Regions from separate parts of the Homo sapiens genome. Here region 2 is linked to region 1. The links are contacts of gene promoters, found by promoter capture Hi-C in human tissues and cell types (Jung and others, 2019). All regions are on one chromosome and are shown on one strand. Each heading gives the region's core, a stretch centred on a gene start or on the middle of the fragment in contact. The rest is flanking DNA. Distances are from core to core; before and after follow the strand shown.

Region 1 (3,168 bases), core at 406-2,905:
GTTTGATCACATTGGCCAGGCTGGACAGGAACTCCTGACCTCAGGTGATCCGCCCGCCTCGGCCTCCCCAAGTGCTGGGATTACAGGCGTGAGCCACTGCACCCGGCCTCTATGTGGAAATTAAAGGGTACAAAGAGAAATTACAATTCGTCAGAGGGTATCTATTTGACCATTCGTAGCTACTCTGGAAAATTTTAAACCATTTTTCAAAATGATAACTCCTCTCATGATGAAGGTAGGTTCACCCCCCTGCACTTTCGTAATCTTCCACTTGAAAAACTGAGTAGTTAACACTGATGTCCGTCATCCCACCATGCCAGGGCTCCTAAATGGTCAGTGTTTTTGTTTTTTTCAAATAATTCACTCCAAGCTCAAATTACGTCTACTTCGGGCTTGCCAATTGTTGACATGTTTTCTCAGGGGTTTAGCCTTGCTAACAAAAAATAAAAGCTTCTGAGGAACTGATTCCACAGGTCTAAAGGTAGTATCATTGCTCTTTGGTATGAATTGGTACATTATGCTTGGACAACTAGGAATTCCCTCTCATTAACTTGGCTGATCAGTTTGGCTGCTGATCAATCTAGGAGATGGCATAGTAAGTGCTCTGGGAACCTGCTCATTAAGAAGCCCTAAAACTCCGCGACATGAGTATCTTCATTCATGAATTCTGCAAAAGGAGGCAGTGGGAGGAATTCCTTAACTTGGGGTGAGGTTACTAGTCAGTTCCAGACTATGCCATCTCCAGAACGGCAGGAACGGCTCACTAGCGAGACAGGAAGGAATGTTGGGTCCTAACGCATGCTTAAAATGTCTATTTCTCATCTTTAACAGTTCAGTATCAGGCGCACTGGGCACAATAGCCCACCACAGGTACTGTTAACCCATGGCCTGATCTGGCTCAGGTCAGAAGAACAGGACATGTTTCCCCCTCCTACTCTACTCTCAATGATAATTAGCTCGGTCCGGCTCTAAGTTCCTTCCAGATCCTCGCCGGCGCCTTCCCTGCCCACACGCGCCTTCCTCTGCGAGCGGCAGGACCCAGGAGCTGGAGCCCGCGTGCCAGGGACAGACGCCCGAGATGATTAGGTTGGGGGCGCGGCAGCCCAGCGCCCTGGAGTGCACCAAGACCCCCGACTCCTCACCCCCGAGCTGGGGCGAGAGCGGCTTCCCCAGGGGCTAGGGCCTCGAGGCCACGCCCACAGTCGGGGCCCAGGGGAGCAAACCAGCAGTCGCCGGCCACGGGAAGCTCTCCCGGGCGGCGGAGCTAGAGCAAGGACTCATGCTCCAGACCCCAGGAGCTGCCAGCCTCGCTTCCTGCTCCTTTCGCTGTATAGTGACAGTTCTCGGCCGGACTCTACCGAGCCCTCCGGGAAGCCCAACCTGGCCCCTAGAGTGGCCCCGGGCCCGGGACCCCCGGCGCCGCCCGACCCGGTGCGAGCCTCGCCCCCCGAAGCTCCTGACCTCTGAGTCTTTGCGCTGGTTGCGGTTGAACTCGCGGGCTTTGCCCCCAGGCAGGAGGCCCGCGGCGGCCCGCGGTGCCCCGGGTGGTGGCTGTGCGGCTGCCGGCGGCGGAGGTGGCGGGGGCTGGGGCTGTTTGTTGTTCACGATCAGTGGGCCCGGACCGCCGACTGCCGGCTCCATCTTGGCTGCTCCACACCCCCAGCTTAACTCGCGCACAGCCGCCGTGATGCAACTCTCGCGTGATTTTCTCCAGGAAATTTCCCTGGCCGCCATATTAAGTGTGGCGGCCAGTGTTAGAAGCCATCTTGGCTGACCAATACCTCGCGATATTCTGTCTGCAGTCCTTCCCTTGTTGATCTTTTTAGTTTTCCACCTTCCTTTCAGTTTCAGTTTAGATGTAATTTTATCTGTGAGGCTTCCCTTAGCTTCTTCAGTCAGTTTAGTTACCCCTCCTTCCTCTAAATCGCTTTGCACTTATAACTCATAGCCTTGTTCAAGGCTTAGGCGGAATTTTGTAATGAACAAAATGGATAGGATCCTAGTCTTCACAGAGTTACCGTTGTGACAAGTGCTTGTCATTCATTCATTCAACAAACATTTAATAAATGTCTCCTGTGCACCAAGCAGTGGGATAAAATGAGGAACAAGTGTCTGCAGTCACGGTACATAACAGTGCTTGGTGGGTCAGACAAACAATAGACAAATATAGAGAAATAAATGCTGAAAAGTGTTAAAGGAAAATTTGTTCATGGCACTAATTAAAGATGGTAAGGCAGACTTTATGTAAGAGAGCCCATGGTGATAGTTACAGGGACCACTACAACCAGATCTTGCAGTGAAGAAGAGGAATTAGACTCAACTCTGACTCCAACAAGATATAGTGGGGATTTATAACCAAAGAGCAGGATGAGGGTCAGTGGACGGAAAACTACTAAGAGAAACATCAAGGATAAGAAGTTTCTTGCTAAACTGACCTAACAGGATTATTGCTGAAAGCAGGACAGGGTGCTAAGATGTTGAGGGTGGTCAGATACCGAGTGCTATGGTTTGACTGTGTCCCCCAAATTCCATACGTTGGAAACTCAATCCTAAAGTTCATATGTTGATGGTATTTGGAGGTGGAGCCTTGAGGGGGTGATTAGGATTAGATAAAATCGTCAGGGTAGGGCCCCTGTGATGGGACTGGTGGCTTTATAAGAAGAGGAAGAGTGATCTGAGCTGGCACACATGCTCTTGCTTTCTCACCGTGAGAGGCTCTCTACCATGCAGTTTAAGAAAGCCCTCACCAAATGCAACCCCTCGACTTTGGGCTCCCCAGACTCCAGAACTGCAAAAAATAACTTTCTTTCCTTTATGAATTACCCAGTGTTTTGTATTCTGTTATAGCAACAAAAAATGGATTAAGACGCCAAGAGTGGAGAGTCCCTGCACAAACTGGATTCAACAAGGACAGAAAGGAAGCCCAAACGGTTAGTCCTAGTAGGCAGAGGACTCACAGGAGCCTGACTAGAGTTTTGGCCAAAGAAGAGAATCTTTGTCAGAAGTAACAAAAATTGAGAGGTTAAAAGGTGGCAGTGGGGCGGGGGGCAGGGGTTGGTGGAGGCGGAGAATGTGGCTATAATATAAGCATGCTGCCCAAGGAAGGCAGGCCTGAGGGTGTGATTTTAGATGAGTTCTGAAAGAAGTGAGGAGAAGCCCTGCAAAGTT
Region 2 (3,168 bases), core at 187-2,686, 650 kb after region 1:
CCATGTTGGCCAGGCTGGTCTTGAACTCCTGACCTCAGGTGATCTGCCTGCCTCAGCCTCCCAAAGTGCTGGGATTACAGGCATGAGCCACTGCACCTGACCAAATTATTTTTTAAAGACTATAATTTAATAACAATTTTTCTTCCCCTTCATTAAGCTTTAATTTGTTAAGAGTTAATGGCTCTGGTTTAAGTTGATAGCTCTGAAATAGCACCTTGCATATTTCACCCCTTTCTTTAACTGAGCAGCTGCTGTTAGCTTTGCACTCTACTGATCTCTGTGAAGTTTCAAGAAATATTAGTGAAATGTGATAGGTACTTCTTAGGAACTTTGCTTGAAAGAATAGCGGACCAGAATGTTGATGGAATTATTTTTTATTATGTGCATATTGCTTTTTTAAACTTTTAACAATTATTTAAAAATAGAGATGAGGTCTTACTATGCTGCCTAGGCTGGTCTGGGATTCCTGGGCTCAAGTGATCCTTCCGCCTGGGCCTCCCAAAGTGCTAGGAGTATAGGTGTGAGCCACCACACCTGGCCTATGTGCATATTTATTTAACCTACTATTTCACCACTTCCTGGCCTATATTAACCCTCTGTTCCAGTTAAAGTGATCTTCTAACCAGTCCCTTCAGCTCCCCATATGGTCTGTTGCTTCTCCATCTTTGTTTTCATGGGTTTCTTCCTGTCTGAATGCCCTTCTAGCCCTTGTTAGTTTTTCCTGTTCTCTTCTATAATTTTGGACTGTGCCATGTAATACAACACTTCTGTCTTGTGTTCAGTTTCATTTATAGAAGTTTTACTCCCTAAATGATAAACTCCTTAAAGGTAGGGCCCAGCTTGTACTATGAGTCCTTCATCACTTTTGCCTCCCACAATGCTGAAGAAAGAGTAGTCATGAAATGTGTAGTCTGGAGTCAGACAGACATGAGATTGAAACCTTGCTCTGCCACTTACCAACTTTTTGACTTTGAGCAAATTACTTAACGCCTCTGAGCCTGCTGCTTTCTTTATAAATTAACAGTGAGTACCTTAATATATAATACTAATATAATAAGTGCTTAGTAAAGGTTAAATATTATTGTTTTTCTTTAATTCAGCAGTTGTTTGTCGAGCACCTATACACATGAGGCACTTATCAGGTCCTGGGAACTGGTGTAGAACACCAGACCTCTGCCTTGATGGAACTTTATGGACCAATAGAGAAAATGGCACTAAATGATATATAATTATAAATGTAGTAATTACCAAGAAGAAAAATAGTAACCACAGGAATAATTGACAGGTCTTTTTTAGTCTGGGGCATTAGGAAAGATTCACTGAGAAATTATTTAAACTGATACTTGAATAGAATTTTGCCAGGAAGAGTATCTCAGGCAGAGAGAACAACATGTTCATAAGGCCTGGGTCTAGAAAGAGCTTGGCATACTCCAGGATCTGGAAGAAGGCCAGTGTGGTTGTAGCAGAGGGAATGGGGGAAGGGGTTAGCGCCCACACCCAAGGGAGAAGCAGCAAGCCTTTATGGTTCTCTCGGCTCAGTCAGCTGGCAACTGGAGCATATCTCTCTGTCACTTTCTTTTCTTTAAAATGAACTAAGATATAACAATTAAATGCAAAAATTATGAAATGTAGCTATTTATTGAGAAATGAATTGTTTCATGGAAGTGACTTTCAAAAACTAAGCCTACCCTTTTATAAGTGCCAAAGGTTTTTTGTTTGCTTGCTTTTTTAATGGAAATCTTTCTAATATACTTCTCTGCCTTCTTGGTCAACAGTATGAGCCTAGGTCACTAAGAAGAGAATAAATTATGCTATACCAGGACTGCTGTGGTTTGAATGTGCCTCCCCAAATTCATGTTTTAGGAACTTAATCGTCAATGTAACAGTATTAAGTGGTGGGTCTTTAAGAGGTATTATATCATGAGGGCACCAACTCATGAATGGATTAAGGCCTTTATCCCAGGAGTGGGTTAATTATAATAGGGAGAGAGTTTGGTCCTATTTCTTTTCTTTTTGTTGTTGTTGTTGTTGTTGAGACAGAGTCTCACTCTATTGTCCAGGCTGGAGTGCAGTGTTGTGATCTCAGCTCACTGCAACCTCCGCCTCCCAGGTTCAAGGGATTCTCGTGCCTCTGCCTCCCAAGTAGCTGGGATTACAGGTGTACGCCACCACACCTGGCTAATTTTTGCATTTTTAGTAGAGATGGGGTTTCACCATGTTGCCCAGGCTGGTTTCAAACTCCTGACCTCAAGTGATCCACCTGCCTTGGCCTCCCAAGTGCTGCAATTACAGGCGTGAGCTACCATGCCTGGCCTGGTCCTATTTCTTTTCTGTGTCTCCTGTGCTTGCTTCCACTTTCTGCCATGGGATGATCCTCTGCAGATGCCTATGCCATACTCTTGGACTTCACAGCCTCCAGAACTGTGAGCTACATAAACGTCTTTTCTTTATAAATTGCCCTGTCTTGGATATTCTCTTATAGCAACTGAAAATGGACTAAGACAATGACTCACAGTATTTTAATGTGGTATGACATTTAATACCCACAGGAGCTATTGAGATATGTGGGGCTATCTTCTCCCATTTCAGATGTCCTGGATTATAAACTTAATGCCATTGTCTGCCTGTTTGCTTCTTTGCTGCAGAAATGATATTCCCTTTGTAATTCCTCTTGTAATATCCTCTTCCTCTTGCTGTTGTCCCTGTCTGTCTCTACATATATCACCCTCAAATTTGATTTGCTTCCTCTCTATGCTGAGAAAGCAGATTTCTAATATTAGACAATTCTAACCGGTTTAATAAATTGAATTAGAGTGATGGTCTGCAAATTTCTCTTAGAAGTCAAATGCACAGATTTTTAATGCATGATAGTGACATCAGAGGTCTCCTTGCTTCTTTTCGGTGAGTATCCGGGTTGCTGAGGCATCTGAATCATGGAGGTTGCTGTTGCCCCTCTCCTTTGAACACTGGCTTATTGTGGAGCAGGGAGCTGATCTCGAAAACAACAAAAACCCAGATACATAGCAGTTGAAAAGCAAACTGAGTGGCTAAATTATTGATGAGTCATAGAATTTTAAAGCTTAGAGAGACTGGAAAGATTGTCATTCTAGCCCCCGCACTTCGGTAATGATGTCAGGTTGTGCTGCCCAATTTCACGCAGCGTTTTGT

The links. Contacts are between HindIII fragments. The study calls those that stand out against the background at their distance.
Region 2: a fragment that was not itself captured here is called in contact with the fragment with the promoter of STRIP1 in region 1 in 1 of the 25 tissues and cell types used here (pancreas).

What each region holds. Positions count from the first base shown.
Region 1 is chr1:110,033,111-110,036,278 of GRCh38, reverse strand. It overlaps STRIP1 (striatin interacting protein 1), which reads right to left and starts at 1,655. Exons shown (of 21, transcript NM_033088.4): 1 at 1,462-1,655. The coding sequence starts at 1,641. It overlaps LOC105378895 (a long non-coding RNA gene), which reads left to right and starts at 840. Exons shown (of 3, transcript XR_947693.3): 1 at 840-870; 2 at 2,848-2,930. RefSeq lists silencers at 1,061-1,130, 1,371-1,590 and an enhancer at 1,591-1,980. The HindIII fragment of the contact is 12,037 bases long and covers 1-3,168 here.
Region 2 is chr1:109,383,943-109,387,110 of GRCh38, reverse strand. All of the region lies in intron 1 of SORT1 (sortilin 1), which reads left to right. Among named protein-coding and RNA genes, the nearest start is that of SORT1, 12 kb to the left of the region's middle. The HindIII fragment of the contact is 4,275 bases long and covers 1-3,168 here.